Linked DNA regions of Homo sapiens: all the other regions are linked to region 2. The links are contacts of gene promoters, found by promoter capture Hi-C in blood cells and fetal thymus (Javierre and others, 2016). All regions are on one chromosome and are shown on one strand. The core of a region is centred on a gene start or on the middle of the fragment in contact, and the rest is flanking DNA. Distances in the headings are between cores, read along the strand shown. Region 1 overlaps RC3H1 (ring finger and CCCH-type domains 1). Region 2 holds the start of PRDX6 (peroxiredoxin 6). Region 3 has its middle 110 kb from the start of FASLG. Region 4 overlaps RABGAP1L (RAB GTPase activating protein 1 like). Region 5 has its middle 80 kb from the start of FASLG. Region 6 holds the start of LOC107985225 (a long non-coding RNA gene). Region 7 has its middle 64 kb from the start of FASLG.

Region 1 (2,700 bases), core at 35-2,534, 540 kb after region 2:
ACACTGTTCATGTTTTTAGAGGTGATCAGGTATAGGGCCAAGATCAAGGTTTCTAACACTTATTCAACAAGGGATTAAAAGCAGAGTGCCACGCAAATCAAAACTCTAAATATTCTCAAAGATTAGCTGAATAAAATAGTCATAAAGTTAGATTCACAGGGATCAAAGAGCTTCAAATTCTAAAAATCGTTTCCCAGTGTAACTTCAAATAAATCCTTTGTGAATATTCCTAGTTTCTTCTATACATTAAGAAAACCTAAAAGGCAAACAAGTTCTAGATAGGAGACCAAGTATTAGTTGTTCACATTTGTATAGAACATTAAATTTTAGTTCTTATAACCCAATGAAGAAATACAAATGAGTCTAAGAGTTTGAGCAAAACCCTCTGGGGTGATCAAAACAAAACTGCAAACTTCTATGAGTCTCAACTTTTCTTCCATAAAGAGTCCCTGGCAGCATGTCTACTGTACTTAGAGAAGCATGCAAAGAATTAGGTGGTTTTTTATTCCTAACAATCACATCCCAAAGTTTTTTCTGCAATTTCAATTGTACAGAGTACTCTTCCTCGATGTTGGCTCAAATTAGAGACAGAAAGCAGAATGGCGTTTGCTAGGGATTAGGGAAGAGGGGAATACAGAGTAACTGCTTAATGGGTACAGTGTTTCCTTTTGGGGTAATGAACACATTCTGGAATTAGAGCTGGTGGTTGAACAACATTGTGAATGTATAAAGTGCCACCTAAACTGTTTACTTTAAAATGGTTAATGTTATGTGACTTAACCTCAATAAAAAAAATTATGTTAATCTGTAGATAAAACTGACCCCTTTAGAACTCTTTTCTTGCTCAAAAAAAAAAAAAAAAAAAAAAAAAAACTGCTACCATGTTCAAATGCTATTTAGATCTTGGAAATTTTTTAGATAAAATGCACTTATAAGTTAAATTATTACCACATGTGCACAGTAATAATCAGTGAAGGTATACCAGTGTCAGTTTAAAACATTGTTATGCCTGTAATCTCAGCACTTTGGGAGGCAGAAGTGGGAGGATCACCTTGCTCCCAGGAGTTTGAGACCACCCTGGGCAACACAGCAAAATGCTATCTCTATAAAAATAATAAAAATTAAAAAAAGTAGCCAGGTAAGGCGGGAATAACACTTAAACCAAGGAGTTTGAGGCTGAAGTGAGCTATGATAATGCCACTGCACTCCAGCCTGGGTGACAGACCATGAGTGACTCTGTCATTCATTCATAATATATACATACAGCATTGCTAAAATGCTTGATAACTGTCAAAAGAATATTGCTCTGACATACATCTGCAAATAAGTAAGGTGACTTTAAATTTGAGGAAAATTCTTTCCCCAAGCCTCAATCAGGAAAACAATATAAACTAATAAGAAGTATCTAATAAACAAAAAGTAAACAAGAATATTATATAAGTAAACAGGCACAATCCTGACCAAAAATGGACAGAAATAAATATGCTAAAGTTAAGTGTCTGGGGGATGTAGGGCAACATTACTTCAGATTGGTAAATGTCACACTTCAAAAATAGAAGGAATCTACCTTAAGAAACTCTGTAGTAAGAAAACCTCCTTTGTATAAATGCCTGACAAAATTAATCTTTTATCATAACCTCTAAAGCTAGTCCAAATCCAGCCTAGATTCCAGAATTACACAAAAGAAAAAATCTTGGAGACGGTTCTGGGAAAAGGCTGACCAAAATCTGTGACTGTTTTGATACAGGCCAATCTGAGAATTTTAATCCCTCTGAACCCAATCCTGCAGAATACCTGAACCCTGAGCACAGACGGGGCCAAAGCTAAACCAGGTCAGAATACCCTGCCAAGGAACATCCTGATCTGAGGTGTTCACCAAACAGGGATCATTTATCAGTTTATTCTTCACTTTGTTGGATGCTGACCATTTTCAAGATATATGCAAGAGTGGACTGATTAGACCCATCAGAATCCATTTCAAGCCCTAAGATCTGGAGATGAAAAATACTGCAGAATTCTAAATTATCTATGGCTTAAAGAAAAAAAATTATAAATTAAGAACTTCAAATATTAGCTGACCCAACTTTAACATCATTGAATATCTTTAATTATTTAAAAAAATTTATAAAGTATTTCAAAGGCACAATTTAGTAATTGCCTATGTAACAAATTAACCATGAAAACAATTACAGCAGTATGATAAATCTGTCCTATGTAAACAGTATGAGTTTTTATATTTTATAGCATTCAGATATGCTAAAAACAAAAATTTAAGTGTTTCTTTTGTGATTCACATGAACAAATACTTTCTTGGTCTTACAAGTAGATATCTGACAGGATACAAATAATGATAATAGGGTAAGTTCACAGGCAAAAAAAGGAATCTGTCAACACAGAAGATGCTTCAAAGTTTAACTGTGACACATGTGGTAGTGGCAAAGAATCTAATTTGTGTCACAAGATCTGAGTCTGAGTAAGCTCTTTTACCTATTAATTATGTGATCTTTTTGCTGGTTACATAGCTACTCTTAGCTTCACATTCTTCATATGAAAAAATGAGGACAACAGAACTAATACTGCAGCATAATGAGGAAGCTTAAATATTTTTATTCATTCAACAAATATGTTCTGAAAGGCGTTGTGTACAAATTACCCTTTTTTATTTCTTCAAATAAATCAAGCATATATTAACTTTTAATA
Region 2 (2,700 bases), core at 59-2,558:
GAATTTACCCTACATTTTATTATAATTGCATATAAATATGCCTTCCCTGTAACAGCAGGGACTGTGTTTCTCCACTGTATGGCCTGGCACAGTGTCCAGCACACAGCAGGCAAAGCAAGAGTTACTGCATGAGCCAGTGTCATCATCCAAACGATAGCTACCATTTCCAGAGCACCTACCGTGAGCTGACTAGTTTACCTACATTATCCTGGTGGCTTTCCCAGACCAGACCACCCAAACCAAAGCAGCCCCCCAGTCACCCTCTAGGCACATAACCCTATTTTAGTTCTCTGAATACGACTGATTGCTGTCTAACATATTTTGGTTTGTGTGCTTATTGTCTGTCACCGGTTTCCCTTCACAAGAAGGAAAGCTCCAAGAGGACAGGCATCTTATCTACCTTGTACTTGGCTCATAGCAAATAAATGAATCTAAGCCGCCCACCTCCCTGGGTGACAGAGTTGACCTGCACACAGTAGGTCTCAAAGAGTATGTTTTAAATTTTATATTTAGATTTCAAGATAATTGTGTTGAATATTTTATGGTTCATAACAAACAGAAAGGGGAGGGCAGAATAAAAATAAATAAAAGTTTAGTTACATTACCCTAGCACTGACATTGGTACGGGAATTTTTGCTGCAATAAGAAAGCCACTTCCTCTGACATAAGGTCACCCATACTTCTGGGTCTTGCCACATCCTCTTAGACAGTTCATCGTAGCTGGGCTGGCTGGGGCGGTCAGGACTCCAGACGCTCACACTAAAAGAGGGGTGGTAGTCGAGCAGTCACTCCACTCCTCTGTAGGGAGCTGGCCGCGAGTGGGTGCGCAGCAGGGTGCGCGCGGACCCGTGCAGCGCCCAGGGCGGCTGTGCGAAGCCGCCGCAGCCTGCGCGCCCAGGCGATTCTCCACCTTGGGGCTCGCCTTCCTGCCGCGTTCCTCTTCCTTCCATCCCTAAAGCGCGTACGCCCTGCAGAGTCAAACCTGGCGCATCCTCAAGCTTCCAGGGGGCAACGTGACCGAGCCCCGCATCACGTGTGCAGAGACGGCCTATAGTGTCTGAAGGATGCCACCTAGTCGCAGGCCCGGCGGCGCCACCAACAGCGACCGCGGTAGTCCAGCTCGCGCCGCGTCCCGGCCCCAGCCCGGCCCGGCCCAGCCCCGCCCCGCGCCCAGCCCCGCCCCGCCCCGCGCCCAGCCCAGCCCCCGCGGCCCGGCCCCCAGCGGCCGGCCTCCCGCGGCCCCGCCCCCGCCGCCCCAGTCCCCGCCCCTCGCGCCTTCGTTTATTCCTCCGCGCGCTGGGACAGGCTGCTTCTTCGCCAGAACCAACCGGTTGCTTGCTGTCCCAGCGGCGCCCCCTCATCACCGTCGCCATGCCCGGAGGTCTGCTTCTCGGGGACGTGGCTCCCAACTTTGAGGCCAATACCACCGTCGGCCGCATCCGTTTCCACGACTTTCTGGGAGACTCGTAAGTGGCCACCGCGTAGCCCTGTCCTGGCCTCGGTTGCGCCGGACTCGGAGGTGCCTTCCCTGTTTCTTCTCCCTGCCGTCCTCCCGGCCGCTCAGCCCCCTGCGCCGCCCTCGCCTTCCCCCGCACTGGTTCCGGCGCGCGCCAGGCCGTGTGGCCTCTGCTCAGCGTCGGCTGCGCTGCTGGGAGCTGGCACCCGTTCGGCCTGCCCTGCGCGGGCCACTCGATCCCTCCTGGCCTCCCCGCCTCCGGCGTGGCTGGGCAAGGCCACGCCAAGGTGGGGGGTGGGGAGGATAAAATTGTGTTCTGCGGGTTCTGGAAACTCACCGCCCGCGGGAGGGTTTGTTGTCCATTTAACTCGTCTTAGTAAACTGTGCAGGTAGCGTGGTCAGGCCGAGGGCGCAGGGGCGGGGCGGCATTGACGATCACTTCCCCGGACTAGTGCCCAGGGTCGCACCGCCCTCCCACCCTCCGTTCTGGAATTTGCTCCCTGGGGAGGATGGGTGTCTAAAGCCAAAGTCGGAGGACACAGCTGCTGGCTATAGGTTACAGGAAGGCCAACGTATCATCTGAGGGTGCAGTGGTATTTGCAGGCTTCTGGGCACAAAATGTGAAATTTAAAACCACTAGCTGCCAAGTAGGTGGCCGAAAGACTTTTTGTCCAGAGCCGCCTCCAATGGCCAAGATATGATTTGATAACAGCTTTAGGAAGAGCCAAGAACACTCTGCGTAGGTGTGCCTTCAGAGATTCCAGAACTTGCAACACTTGGAGGGAAGGACTTTCTGACGCTGTTCCGCTGGAGTGGCCTATTCTTGCTAGTGATGGCCGTTCCAGGCTCCAGGACACGTGTACTCCCCAACTTTGAGACTCTCTTGTTTTCCAGTGGCTTGCCCCTCACTGTCCCCTCCGCTTTCTACCTTGCTTCTAGCACATGAGCTTGCTGATGATAGCCAAATTGATGACCTGTGATCTGACTTGGCAGTTTTACCATTATGGATAGGAGTAGTAAATCGGTGTTGCCCTTTTTTTTTTTTAACAGCTCCTGAATCAGCAAACTGGAAGTTGCTTAGTTTTCATCAGAAGCATTCCAGGCATGTCTAGTTATATTATGGTTCTGGAGTACTAGTGGTCCCACTACACTGTGGGGCTCCAAGGCTTGACAACAGTTCTTCCCCAGATTATATCCTTTTTATATACAGTATCCAGGGAGACAGGCTTATGAAATTAATCAGT
Region 3 (2,772 bases), core at 115-2,614, 710 kb before region 2:
CAGAAAACAGCATCCATTTATTATCTCACAGTTCTGTAGCTCAGAGGTTCAGGCACAGCACCTGAAACTGCTTTGAATCTCACAAGGTTGAAATAAAGATGCCAGCATCTGGGGATGAGCTGACTTCCAGGCTCACTCAAGATTTTGGCCAGATTCAGTTCCATGCCATTGTAGGACTGAATGATTTATTTCCTTGTTAGCTGTTGGTCCAGAGTTGTTCTAGTTTCTGGAGAGCACTTGCGTTCTCTGATGCACACCCCTAGCAACAGAAGTTGGAGTTCTTTTCATCCTTTATCTCTCCATGACCTTCCTTTCTTCCTCAACGCTCCTCTGCCTACGTCTTCTGTCACATCTCTCTGACTGAGTCTTCTGTCTCAGTTTCTGCTTTTAAGGATTTATGTGATTGCATTGGAGTTACGCAGATAATCCAAGATAGCCTCTCTATTTTAAGGACAGCTGATTAGTAACCCTAATACCATCTCTTCACAGTGGTACCTATACTAATGTTTGATTGAATAGCCAGAGTGTGGAACTCTCGGGGAGATATCTTTAGAAGTCTGCCTACCTTATGGTTTTTAGGCATATCTGGGTACCAAATAATTACTCAGAAAACTTCCTTAAACCTTTTCATATGGTAGTAAAGTCTGGTAGGTTCTCTGGTATAAAAAATCTACTCCCTAGAAAAGAAAATTCTATCAGCAAGGGTAGTTCTCCTGACCAGATGTTGAAGATAAGGATAGAACTTTATACCTTTCTTCCTTCAGGACCTCACACAGTGCCCCATGTCCAGTAGACAGTCCATGGATGTTTATTGCTGCTGCTGCTATTCTGGCTGCTGATGAACAAAATAGGCCCAGGTCGCTTATGCTTCAAGCAGATTATGAGGCCCTGTGCCACGTGTAGCAGAGTCTTTATAAATAGACTGTTTCACTTAGTTCAGAGAAATGACCACCACAAAATGGTCCAAAACCTTCCCCCATTCTGTCATTCAGCATCAGCTTTGCTGAGGAATGGGGTGAAGATATTTGCATGTTGTTTATTAGCAGAAAACCTGAAAGTGTAATGTTTTCTGAAATTAATAACAAAAAATTTAGGTGCATTCTAGTGGGAAGACTCTTTTCTTCCCCACCCATATTTCTCTGAGCCCATATGAAAAGGAAGTCCCATTTATCCTTCCATCCTTTCTAGGGAGTTCCTGAGAGGGGGTTTCTGTGTTTCTTTTGATCACTTGCATGGTATTCTCTAAGGGAGGAGGAGTAGTTAACCTGATGGGTAACACTCTGTTATCCCCTAGGTTGAGTCCAGTGTCCTAGAAGGTATGGTTTGCTTTAAAAGCAGGAACAGACTTCACACTCTCTTTCCTGCACTGACCATAGCATGGAGAGGTAAGGACAGTGTACTCTCAGCTCTTCTTCCTTTTGTAGAAGAGTTGCAGCTGGCTCAGGTTGGAGCGGGCCTGGAGGTGCCTTACTCTGCTGGGCTTTCTTGGCCTTTCTGTCCAACTGTTGATAAGCCTGTGGGGCAGCTAGTTGGGTAAAAACTCATGTCATCTTCTTGGTAGGCCATATACTCCCCAACTCTGGATTTAGGAAAGCTCTATTTTGGCTTCAGCTATAAGCTGAGTGTTTTAGCAGGGAGCTCTGTACTACAGGAATTATTGAGTTTTTATTAATATATATTTACTCTCCTTTTAGCTCACTGTGGATTTACTCAATAGTTAGTTACAACCCAGAGAAGAGTTGGGGAAAGTGATTAGGCCCATCTTAGTTCCAGCATTATGAATATTCCTATAATCTTAGGGTAACAAGTAGGACATTTCTGGAGCATGGCAGTAAATTCAGAATCCATAGAGGAAAGGATGACTAGATTTGATTACCATATTAGCTAGACAGTTAATATTCTTAATATTAAAATCATCCTCAAAATGATACAAAATTATGAAATCCTCAAATAAAAAATGGTCACAGGATATATATTGGTAATTCATTAAAGAAGAAATAGGTAAAGAAAAATAGCCTCTTCTTTTCACTGTCATTATGGTATCCCTAGATGATCTCATCTAGTCTTTTTTTAATTTTAATTTTTGTGAGTACATAGTAAGTATATATATTTATGGAGTACACAAAATGTTTCTCAATTAGGCTTGTGGCTTAATACTATCTACAGGCTGATTCCCAAATTTTTATCTCCAGTTCTGATCTCTCCTTAGAGTTTCAAATTAATGTATCCATCTTCTCATTGACACCTCTTCTGCAATGGCAAGCAGTCATTTTAAACTTACCATGTCTAAAACAAAGCTGTTGATTTCTCAACCTCTCTGCCCTCCCCTCAAACCTTCCTTCCTTTTCATTGCCCCCACATAGAATCTATCAGCAAGCCCTACCTTCCATATTTCTTCATTCTGTTTTATTTATTCTTTCTTTTCTGGAACTAAACTAGTCCCTAGTTCAAACTACCAACTCTCTCTACTTCTACCCTCATTTCTTCCAACCCATTCTTATCATAGTAGCATTCAGAAAACATAAGTCCAATATTTTTATCCCCTGTTTAAAACCTTTCAGTGACTTTCCGCTTCTTACAGAGCAGTGATTGCAAAACAAAGGCAGTTTTACCTCCAGGTAACATTTAGCAATGTCTAGAAACATTTTTGTTTGTCACAATGGAGTTAGGGGAAGGAGCAAGGTCTCCTACAGGCGTCCAGTGGGTAAAGGCCAAGGATGCCACCAAACATCCTACAATGCATAGTACAACCTCCAACACCAAAGCATTTTG
Region 4 (2,700 bases), core at 140-2,639, 740 kb after region 2:
AGGTATTTCTAGTATCATTTAATTATTTCCTCTATTAAAAAGAAAACAGTATTTCTAAGAGAAATGAGAGTGAGTGTGTCAGGTAAACAGTGATAAATCTGGTTGAGATATGGACTGGTTTGTGTAAATTTTTAGGTAACAATATGGCTCTATTAGTCTGGAAACTTAGGATGAAGAGAGAGTACATTTCCATTAAGTGGCTCAGTCCAAGAAGGTAGCCTCCCTAACTTTGAGATAATTATCTAGCCAGCAGGATTCTTCTTCACATAAACCATTTTTAAAGCTTTATTAGTTCATGTTTTTAATTAGTTCATGTTTTTAATCAGTAGGTTTTTTTTTTTAATCCCTTTTGTTTTTCCAGGTGGTTGTGGGAAGAGAAGTTTGCAGAACTGAAATGGAGGTCAGAGCTTCATTACAGAAGGTTAGTGGATCATCTGATTCTGTGGCTACAATGAACAGTGAAGAATTTGTTTTGGTTCCTCAGTATGCAGATGATAATTCTACAAAACATGAAGAAAAACCTCAACTGAAGGTATTTTTTTCTTTTCTACATATGGTATAATTTTTAATTAAAAACTATTTGAAACTTAGGAGATGTGTAAAATGCAAAGGTTTTTCTCAAGTGCTGACTTTCAAAATAAAATCAATGTTTGATTTATCCAGACCCTAATTATTTGGTTTGTGTATTTTAAAAAGTTCTTGCTTTTGGTTGTTTACCTTTTGATTTGGAATTTTAGGGGGAAGAATAAAAGAAGAAAAAGAAGAGAAAGGATTTTTTGGTGAATTAGACATAATGGTTAAATTTTACATTACTTTATCTGGATGTTTTTGTTTCTCTTACTGCTGGGTTTTAGAAGTTAATTAAATGTTTTGCTTTCACTTGAGAGACTTTTTTCTTTATGATTTTTATGTTTTAAATCAGCTGGTAACGTTCCGTTGTGTGATTTAACAGTCGACTTGTCTAAATGTTTTTAAAGCATATCTTATATTTTTAGCATTTGAGTTTTTATTTAGATATGGTCCCTTTTTCACTTCTGTGTTGCACTTTCTAAGTCAAAGAAAAGGAAGCAAGTAAACTCAGTTATATAGGCTTGAAAATGGTATAACTGTCTTCTAGAAACAGGAATAGGAAAAGTAGTTAAAAGTGCTATATATTACTTATGACTTTTATTTAGTATTAACTATGGCATCAAAAGTGTATTAATATATCAGTCTAATAAAATATATTCTGAAAATGAGATTACTAAATGTTTATGTTGAGAATATATTGTTTTATAATTTTATTTAAATAATCAGTGGCTTTATTTTTAGATACCTGTATTTTAGCATTATTGTGTTTAAGACATCACTTATTTGCTTAGGCTTTGTGTTTCACCTGCCTTTGAGAAAACTATGAGTCAACTTAAGTGTAAGGAAATTAGCAATATTCATCTTGGGAGCTAGCCAACAATTTGTAAAGAAATCAGAAATATGGTTATGCTGTGCTAACAAGAAATATAACCTTTTAAATGATATTCATAATAGACCCGATTTAAATTTACCTATTTTTTCCTTTAGACATGTAAATTTAAGGTTATCTGATTTTTAGGGTGTGTTCCTAAAAAAGAAAAAGAAAAAGAAGGGCCAGGCGTGGTGGCTCATAGCCTGTACTCCCAGCACTTTGGGAGGCCAAGGTGGGCAGATTGCTTGAGGTAAGGAGCTCAAGACCAGCCTGGCCAATGTGGGGAAATCCCGTCTCTACAAAAAATACAAAAATTAGCTGGGTGTGGTCGTGCACGCCTGTAGTCCCATCTACTTGAGAGGCTGAGGCATGAGAATCGCTTGAACCCAGGAGGCGAAGTTTGCAATAAGCTGAGATTGCACCGCTGCATTCCAGCCTGGGTGACAGAGTGAGACTCTGTCTTTAAAAAGAAAGGGGAAAAAAAGATAAATACATCTCTGTAAATAGGATCTTATATAAAATGTAGTTGGAAACTGTCTTAAGTGTTTTATAAAGAATCCTTTTGTGAAACTAATAATCTTCCTCTAATTTAGTTTTATAACCAGGATTTTAATGTATTATATATGTGAAACAACTTCTTAGTATTTTAGTAACTATATTTAAATATTTAGATTGTTTTAATTTCTTCTAGAAATGAAATACTTTCATAAAATTTAGCTTCAGAACTATGGTAGAATTGAAACAGAATTGTCTTGCTGTGTCTGTAGATAGTTTCTAATGGTGATGAACAATTGGAAAAAGCCATGGAAGAGATTTTGAGAGATTCCGAGAAAAGGCCAAGCAGTCTTCTTGTTGATTGTCAAAGTTCCAGTGAGATTTCAGACCATTCGTTTGGAGATATTCCAGCCAGCCAAACAAATAAGCCATCTCTTCAGTTAATTTTGGATCCGTCTAACACAGGTACTGTATTGAATTCTTAGAAACTATTAAAGAAATGGGATAAAGTAATAGTGAAAATTTTAAGATGAAAATCAGAAAAAATTGTTAGCTCTTCTCAAGCTTTCAGTTCTTGTTGAGAGTTTCCACTTCGGTGTTATGTTTCTGCCTATATCTCTGCCTATAAAAATCAGGTCTTAATGTTCTTTGGGAACAAAGACTATGTCTGGGTCCTCATTTTACCCCTAGTACTTCATGCATGGTAGGTCCTCAACAGATACTTACTGAACAAATGAGTAAATACTTGGGTGTCACAGAATAGT
Region 5 (2,820 bases), core at 5-2,504, 740 kb before region 2:
CTGGTTAAATTTATTCCTAAGTATTTTCTTCTTTTTGATGCTATAGTAAATTGAATTGTTTTCTTAATTTCTTTTTTGAATAGTTAATTGTTAATGTATAAAAATGCAACTTATTTTTGTATGTCGATTTTCTGTTTTGTAACTTTAGTGAATTCACTTGTTAGTTCTAACAGTTTTTTTGTGTTTGGAGTCTTTAAAGTTTTCTATATATGGCCACGTCATCTGCAAAGAGAGACAATTTTACTTCTTCTTTTCTGATTTAGATGGCTTTTATTTCTTTTTCTTTCATAATTTCTCTGCCTAGGACTTCCAGTACAATGTTGAATATAAGTGGTGGGAGTTGGTATCCTTATCTTGTTCCTGATCCTAGAGGAAAGGCTTCCAACTTTTCACTATTGAATAGAATGTTAGCTGTAGGCTTGTGATATATGACCTTATCGTGTGGAAGTACATTATTGCTAAACGCAATTTGTTGGGAGTTTTTGTCATAGAAGCATACTGATTTTTTTTTCAAATGCTTTTTCTGCATCTATTGAGATGATCATACAATTGTAATCCTTCATTCTGTTAATGTGGTGCATCACATTTAGTGATTTACATTTGTTGAACCATCCTTGCATCATAGGGATAAATCTCATTTGATTATAGTGTAGGATTCTTTTAATGTGCTGTTTAATTCAATTTGTAGCTGTTTTGTCAGAGGATTTTTGCATTTACGTTCATCAGGAATATTGACCTGTAATCTTTTCTTGTAGTGTCTTTGTCTGACTTTAGCATCAGGATAGTACTAGCCTCATAAAAATCCCTTTGTAAGTTTTCCCTCCTCTTCGATTTTTTTGGGAGAGTGAGAATGATTGGTATTCATTCCTCTTTCAATGCTTAATAGAATTCACCAGTGAGGCCATCTATTATTGGGCTTTAATTTGATGGGAGATTTTTGATTCCTGATTTAATCTTATTACTCATTATTGGTATGTTCAGATTTTCTATTTCTTTTTGTTTCAGACTTGATAAGTTTTATGTATATATATATATATATATATATATATATATATATATATATATATATACACATACATATTTAGGATTTATCCATTTCTTATAGACTGTTCAGTTTTTTGGTGTATAATTGTTTCTTGTAGTCTCTTACAATCCTTTGTATTTCTGTGGTATTTGTCATAACGTCTCTTCTTTCATTACTGATTTTATTTGAGTTTTCTTTCTTTTTTTCTTAGTGTAGCTGAATTTTAAAAATCTTCTCAAAAAAACCTTTTGGTTTCATTGATCTTTTATATTGCTTTCTAGTCTCTGTTTCACTTATTTCTGCTTGGATCTTTCTTCTATCAACTTTGGGCTTAGTTTGTTCTTCTCTTTCTAGTTCCTTGAAGTGTAACATTAAGTTGTTTACTTGAGTTCTTTCTTTTTAATGTAGGCATTAACTACCGTGAACTTCCCTCTTATAACTGCTTTTGCTACATCCCTTAAGTTTTAGTATGTTTGTTTCCATTTTTGTTTGTCTCAAGATATTTTAAAATTTCCCCTTTGATTTCTTTTCTTTACCCATTAACTGTTCAGGAACACATTATTTAACTTCCACATATTTTTGAATTTTCCTGTTATTAATTTCTATTTTCATACCATTGTGATCAGAGAAGATACTTGGTATGATTACAATTTTCTAACATATTTAAATACTTCTTTTGTGGCCTAACATATGATCTATCCCAGAGAATGTTTCATGTGCACTCAAGACAAATGTGTACATGCTTCTGTTGGAGAGAGTGTTTTGTATACATCTGTTAGGTCCATTTGGTCTAAAGTGTAGTTTAAGTCCAATATTTCCTCATTGATTGTATGAATGATCTATTAATTGTTGAAAGTGAGGTATTGAAGTCCTCCACTATTATTGTTTTACTGTCTATTCCTCCCTTCAGATCTATTAGTATGTGTTTTATGTATTTAGGCACTCTGATGTCGCCTGCATATATATTTATAATTGTTATATCTTCTTAATATATTGATTCCTTTGTCATTAAAAATTGCCTTCTTTGTTTCTTTTTACAGTTTTGACTTAAAGTCTATTTTGACGTAAGTATAGCTACATTTGCTATCTTTTCCTTTCCATTTTCATGGAATGTCTTTTTCTATCCCTTCACTTTCAGTCTATACATGTCCTAGAAGCTGAAGTAAGTATCTTATAAAGAGCATATAGTTAGGGTTTAAAAAAATCCATTCAGGGCTAGGTGTGGTGGCTCATCCCTGTAATCTCAGCACTTTGAGAAGCTGAGACAGGCAGATCACTTGAGGTCAGGAGTTTGAGACCAGCCTGGCCAACATGGGGAAATGTGTCTCTACTAAAAATACAAAATATTAGCCAGGTGTGGTAGTGTGCACCTGTAGTCCCAGCTACTTGGGAGGCTGAGGCAGGAGAATCACTTGAACCTGGGAGGGAGAGGTTGCAGTGAGCTGAGACTGTGCCACTGCCCTCCTGCCTGGGTGACAGAGCGAGACTCCATTTCAAAAACAAACAAACAGACAAACAAAACCACCCCATTCAACCACTCTATTTATTTTGCTTAGAGAATTTAATCTATTTACTTTCAAGGTAATTATCAGTAGGTAAGAACTTCCTATTGCCATTTTGTTAGATTTCTCTTTCTTTCTTTCTTTCTTTTTTTTTTTGCTTATTTTGAGTCTTCTTTTGTGATTTGATGATTTGTTGTAGTGGTATGCTTTGATTTTTTTCTTTGTCTGTTATATATCTACTATAGGTTTTTGTTTTGTGGTCACCAAGATGTGTATATATAACGTCTTATAGGT
Region 6 (2,700 bases), core at 61-2,560, 660 kb before region 2:
AAGGAAAGAGGTTTAATTGACTCACAGTTCAACATGGCTGGGGAGGCCTCAGGGAACTTACAATCATGGTGGAAGGGAAAGCAAACACATCCTTCTTCACATGGCGGCAGCATGGAGAAGTATGAAAGCTGAGTGAAGGGAGAAGCCCTTATAAAACCATCAGATCTCATGAGAACTTAATCACTGTCATGACAATAGCATGGAAGAACTACCCCATGATTCAATTACCTCTCACCAGATCCCTAGGACTCTTAAACTGTTTATTTTTCTTCACGCTTTTTTTTCTTTTTGTTCCTCAGACTGGACAATATCAAACTCAATTTCACCATGTACTTAACTTTACTTATGCTCTTTATTTCTTTGTGTGGATTCAAGTTACTCTCTAGTGTTGTTTAATTTTGCCTGAAGAATTCCCTATACTATTTCTTGTGAGGGAGATCTGCTAGCAGTAAATTTTCTCAGTTTTTGTTTATCTGAGAATGTCTTAAACTCCCCTTCACTTCTGAAAGAAAATTTTGCTCAATATAGAATTTTTGTGTGAGATTCTTTTTCTTTTAGCACTTTAAATATGTCATCCAACTTTTTTGGCCTTCTTAGTTTCAGATCATATGTCAGCTGTTCATTTCATTGCAGATCCCTTGTATGTGATGAATCATTTTTGCTGGCTGCTTTTGGGATTCATTTTTATCTTTGACAGTTTGACTAATACATGTGTAGGTGTGTACCTCTTTCAGCTTATTCTACTTGGAGTTGTTGAGCTTTTTTGATGTGTAGATTAAGATTTTCATCAGTTTGGGACATTTTCTGCCATTATTTTTTCACATACCAATATATGTACCATGGGAGTCCTAGAAGGAGAGGAGAGAGAAACAAAAGGACATAAAGAATATATATGTCCTAAGAATTTTCAATACCATTTACTAACTATTAGATAGAAGTAATAGTTTTTTCTCCCCCTTATTAATCTCTTTTTTCTTCTACTTAATCATTAAGAAATATCGCCTTTTATAATAGTCACTAATATGTGACTATTTATAATCAAAAATAATATGAGAATCAATCATATGCAAGTTGATATAATACGACACAATTTGCCAGAGAGAAGTTATACAGAAGGAGGAAATAAGAAGAAGAAGAGCAAGTTGAGTGTTCTATGGTTTTGTCAGCTTTGTCCCTTCCAATTTGCTAAAGCTTATGTGGTTTCCTTTACTATAGTGAATATGTGAGGGGAAGAAGCTTGAAACAAGGAGGTCCTGTTATATGCCAATATTGATCTATAAAAACTCTAGATGAAGCTGAAAAAGTTCTGGGGTAAAATCCAAGGACACAAGTAATAGACATTTAAGAATCATTACATTTTCTTTCTAAGTAAGAATGTAGAAGTCAAGCTTTATATAATTCAAGAGGAGCAGAAAGGTAAGAATAACCTAGAGAGAAGAGCAAGGAAGTGGGATTCTAGGAGAAAAGGTTTTTTGTTTGTTTGTTTGTTTGTTTGTTTGTTTTTTGGCAGGAGGTGTGACAAAAATGGAAAAGAGAAAGTAAAAAATATGGGTAACCCCACAAGAAAAGCAAATACAAAGGTCAAATCGGGTGAGTAAGAATAAGTGCATGAAATAAAGAGGGATGAACAAACGGGGTGGGGAATTTTCAGGGTAGGAGAAAAAGATGGGAACTTTGAAAAAAGTGGGAATAAGGGAGAAAAGGGTATTAGTACTGAGCTTTGAAGGAATGGTTGAGGGAATTATAGAAGGTCAAATGATGGAAATGGGTGCAGCTTGAGAGAAAAAAAGAGTTACTGGGTTAGGATGACAAGAAAGGCAAAGTGATGAGGCTTTGCCTTTGACTCTTGGACTGTGTTTAATGAAGCTAAAAGCACACACTTGTTAGGTTATAAAGTGAGGTAAAGAACTATCGAGGGAGAGAGACTGAGTACCTGATGTCAATTCTTATTACAGTTCTTTAAGATTTCTGTTTTATCAAAGGATCTCACTTTCTTCCCACCTCATTCTACAATGTAGTAGTATTCTAACACTCATGCACATCAAGGTACTTGTGGGAGAGAATATCCTGTAAGAAAAACATATACAACCTATAGATTTCTGATTCATAGCACATGAGGAGTTCATTAAAAACACACAGAAAATAACAAGACAAAAAACTTTGGACACCCCCCTCCCGAAGCTCATTCATGGGTCCCATCCTTTAATCTCACCAATTTACATAAATATGAAACACCTGACCAAGTTTTCAAGTAATTTGTCACTCATCTTACCTCCTAAGGAAGACTATGTTTTCATTTAACAACAAATAGGCCAGGTGCAGTAGCTTATACCAGTAATCCCTTTAGAACGCCAAGGTAGGAGGATCGCTTGAGGCCAGGAGTTTGAGACCAGCCTAACATACAAGGACCTTTGATTCTGCAAAAGATAAAAAGCATTAGCTGGGCATGGTGGTGCTCACCTATAGTCCTAGCTATCCAGGATGCTGAGGCAAAAGGATCATTTGAGCAAAGGAGTTCAAGGTTACAATGAGCTGTGATCGCATCACTGCATTCCAGTATGGGTGACAGTTCTTGCTCACAAGAACCTGTCTTTATAAAACAAATGAACAACTTAACAACAAATACTTGTTAACAGATATTTAATTTACTATGTGCCAGATATGTACTCCAGGCACCTGAACAACATGAAAATAGAATGT
Region 7 (2,710 bases), core at 66-2,565, 750 kb before region 2:
ACAAACTAGGAAAGAAGGGAATTTATCACTGTAACCAGATACACAGAGAAGGCCGGAGGTAATTCCACCAACTCAAAGTGTTACAATTTTCTTAGCGCTTATATAGGTTGGGGCTATGTGCCTATGTGCAGTATAGCATTCGCCTAAGTCTATTGGTAACTGATTCTGTTTCAACTAGAAGGTCAGAGGCAAAAATTGCTTGCTAAGTCCAATTAAAAGGGCCCCAGTACCTTCAAGGCCTGTCTACTGCGGTACCAGAGTGATTATTTCTATCTCATCTCCTTTACAGCTTGGTCCGGAGAGCTGCCTTAGACTCTCCGATGAATCTATTCAAACAGCTGCCTCTGTTACCTTGACTTGTCTCAGATTTTGTCAATGCAAGATGGGTCCTGGCAGTAGGAATGTAAGACTGTCTCTATTATTTTGGTTTGCTCCAGGTTAGGGAGAAGCCCATGCAAGGTTCCTACTGACCATATGTTTCATTTCTAGTTTTGATGTCTGGGCATTGATTTCCCTAGGTTTGACTATTTGCTCAATGGTAAGACAGTGCTATGGAAATTTGTCTGTGTAACTGGAGTGCTATGTAGGCCTGTCTGTGTGACTGTCATGCAGGCCTGTCTGTGTGATTGTCAGGGAGAATTGGCCTGCCACAAAGCCATCTGTAAAATATCCTACTCTAAGGAATAATTTCTAACTATGTTGCTGATGGGAATTTAAGAGTTATTCACATACAAATAAGAATAGTTACATGTAACTAACTTTTACTGACTAAAATGTGTATTTTACAGGCAGGGCACAGTGGCACACACCTGTAATCCTAGCACTTTGGAAGGCCAAGGCAGGCAGATTGCTTGAGCCCAGGAGTTTGAGATCAGTCTAGGCAATATGGCAAAGCACTGTCTCTATAAAAAATACAAAAATTATCCAGGCATGGTGGTGCATTCCTGTAGTCCCAGCTCTTCAGGAGGCTGAGGCAGGAGGATCACTTGAGCCTGGAAGGTTGAGGCTGCAGCGAGCAGAGATCGTGCCACTGCACTCTAGCCTGGGCAACACAGCAAGACCCTGTCTCATACACAAAATATGTATTTTAGTGTCAGACAACAATAATATTTTGATAGTAAGCATTTTTCTCTTTAGCTATTACTATTCCATGTTGCAGACATCAGTTTTGTGTTTCGCATGTTAAAGTTTGAAGTGGCCTTAAAGGACATCTAGTTTATCCCAGTCCTTGAATGTAAACAGATTTTAAAAACGAAGAAGCGACAATCCAGGTGGGCTGGAACTTCTCCACATGAGGTGCAAATTATTAGCAGGGTAGAGCGTAAATCTCAGATCTGACTTCCCATCGCATGTTCTTTCAGATATTGTGGCTTGATTGGCCTTATTCCAGACCCTTGGAAGTCCAGGTGTCAAGAGTAGGGAAGGCCTTTTTCAGTAAGAACTTTGCAGTCTAGTGGAAAAAAACAGGTAAGGACTGAACTCTGACATTTTTACTTTCTCAGATTTCTTTTTAAGGGCCCACAGGGAGTCAAATCTACAAGACATAAAATTATGTTAAACAAGTTTTTTTGACCCAGTATATTGTGGCTTACTTTTGCAACCAGACTCTGGTATGGCATCATGTAACAGAAAACAGACCCCCTTGTCTTAACTGAAGCATTCCTTTCTACTGACTCCAAGTTTTTAGACAAAGCTCAACTCTTTCAACCAATTGCCAACTAAATAATCCCTAAACTCACCTGTGTCTTGTAAGCTCTCACTGCCAGATGTCCTGCCTTTTTGAATAGACTCAATGTACAACTCCCATGTATTCGTTTATGTTTTGACATGCAATTTCTGTCTCCCTCCCAAACGTTAACCCAACTGCCTTGGGCACACTTTCTCGGGACCTCTTGAGACAGTTTCCCCAGGCCATAGTCACTCATATTGGCTCAGAATAAACCTCTTTAAATATTCTGGCAGAGGTTGATTTTTTTGTTGTTACCAGTAACTGGCACCTATACTAAAAGAATGTAATTAGGGATACAGTGAATATATAAGCAACACACATGTTTTAGGAAAACAGTTGAAGAGATACTTTACTCTTCCTGAAAAGGATTAAGGAAGTCTTATAGAAAGTGTTTTTTTATATATAGCAGTATTCATTTTCAGGACTCTGAAATAACAGGGAAATCTCCCAGGAGCTTTGGTATGGTGACCCATAAATAGTGACCTGAAAGCATGAGTATGAGATGCTTTTAGCAATTTCAGTCCAATATGCATAGCACAGTCTCATTTAAGAACAATATATGTGTATGTCATGGACATAGAGAATGGAAAAATAGACATTGGAGATAACAAAATGGGAGAGTGGGAGGGACATGGTAAGAGTTGAAAAATTACCCATTGGGTACAATGTTCACTATTCAGGTCATGGGTACACTAAAAGAACAGACATCACCACTAAGCAATATATACATGTAAGAAATCTGTGCTTGTACCCCCTAAATGTCTAAAAATTTTAAAAATTAAAAAATAAAAAGAATATTTGTGTATTTGTGTGTGTATAATCACAGAAAGAAGTCTCTAAAGTTATATAACAAAATGACTGTAGTTTTCTGGGAGTGGGAGGGGTGGGGTTAAGATGAATAGGGGTGGGGTAGGCTCAAAGCATTCTGGGAATGAAAGTGAAACTTCTTTTAGTATTTATGTCCTTTTTATGTGATGAAAT

What was found. The method cuts DNA at HindIII sites, captures the fragments that hold promoters and counts their contacts. A CHiCAGO score of 5 or more calls a contact.
Region 1: a contact is called between a fragment that was not itself captured here and the fragment with the promoter of PRDX6 in region 2, in 4 of 17 cell types (neutrophils, fetal thymus, monocytes and 1 more). The highest score is 12.5, in neutrophils.
Region 3: a fragment that was not itself captured here is called in contact with the fragment with the promoter of PRDX6 in region 2 in 1 of 17 cell types (monocytes); the score reaches 6.0 in monocytes.
Region 4: a contact is called between a fragment that was not itself captured here and the fragment with the promoter of PRDX6 in region 2, in 1 of 17 cell types (fetal thymus). The highest score is 7.0, in fetal thymus.
Region 5: a contact is called between a fragment that was not itself captured here and the fragment with the promoter of PRDX6 in region 2, in 4 of 17 cell types (naive CD4 T cells, naive B cells, total CD4 T cells and 1 more). The highest score is 6.6, in naive CD4 T cells.
Region 6: a fragment that was not itself captured here is called in contact with the fragment with the promoter of PRDX6 in region 2 in 2 of 17 cell types (total B cells and naive B cells); the score reaches 6.5 in total B cells.
Region 7: a contact is called between a fragment that was not itself captured here and the fragment with the promoter of PRDX6 in region 2, in 1 of 17 cell types (monocytes). The highest score is 6.3, in monocytes.

Annotation. Positions count from the first base shown.
Region 1 is chr1:174,016,938-174,019,637 of GRCh38, forward strand. All of the region lies in intron 1 of RC3H1 (ring finger and CCCH-type domains 1), which reads right to left. Among named protein-coding and RNA genes, the nearest start is that of RC3H1, 4.1 kb to the right of the region's middle. The HindIII fragment of the contact is 2,618 bases long and covers 1-2,593 here.
Region 2 is chr1:173,476,027-173,478,726 of GRCh38, forward strand. PRDX6 (peroxiredoxin 6) reads left to right here and starts at 1,309. Exons shown (of 5, transcript NM_004905.3): 1 at 1,309-1,466. The coding sequence starts at 1,372. LOC100506023 (a long non-coding RNA gene) reads right to left here and starts at 1,129. Exons shown (of 3, transcript NR_037845.1): 1 at 606-1,129. RefSeq lists enhancers at 314-850, 1,348-1,507 and a silencer at 1,108-1,277. The HindIII fragment of the contact is 1,817 bases long and covers 997-2,700 here.
Region 3 is chr1:172,767,496-172,770,267 of GRCh38, forward strand. No RefSeq gene overlaps it. Among named protein-coding and RNA genes, the nearest start is that of FASLG, 110 kb to the left of the region's middle. The HindIII fragment of the contact is 4,412 bases long and covers 1-2,772 here.
Region 4 is chr1:174,218,764-174,221,463 of GRCh38, forward strand. RABGAP1L (RAB GTPase activating protein 1 like) reads left to right here. Exons shown (of 26, transcript NM_001366446.1): 2 at 362-532; 3 at 2,209-2,401. The coding sequence starts at 395. Among named protein-coding and RNA genes, the nearest start is that of RABGAP1L, 61 kb to the left of the region's middle. RefSeq lists a silencer at 1,722-1,841. The HindIII fragment of the contact is 2,217 bases long and covers 282-2,498 here.
Region 5 is chr1:172,738,149-172,740,968 of GRCh38, forward strand. No RefSeq gene overlaps it. Among named protein-coding and RNA genes, the nearest start is that of FASLG, 80 kb to the left of the region's middle. The HindIII fragment of the contact is 5,998 bases long and covers 1-2,820 here.
Region 6 is chr1:172,815,281-172,817,980 of GRCh38, forward strand. It overlaps LOC107985225 (a long non-coding RNA gene), which reads right to left and starts at 2,417. Exons shown (of 3, transcript XR_001738297.2): 1 at 2,273-2,417; 2 at 1,934-2,067; 3 at 278-848. The HindIII fragment of the contact is 152 bases long and covers 1,235-1,386 here.
Region 7 is chr1:172,721,804-172,724,513 of GRCh38, forward strand. No RefSeq gene overlaps it. Among named protein-coding and RNA genes, the nearest start is that of FASLG, 64 kb to the left of the region's middle. The HindIII fragment of the contact is 6,552 bases long and covers 1-2,710 here.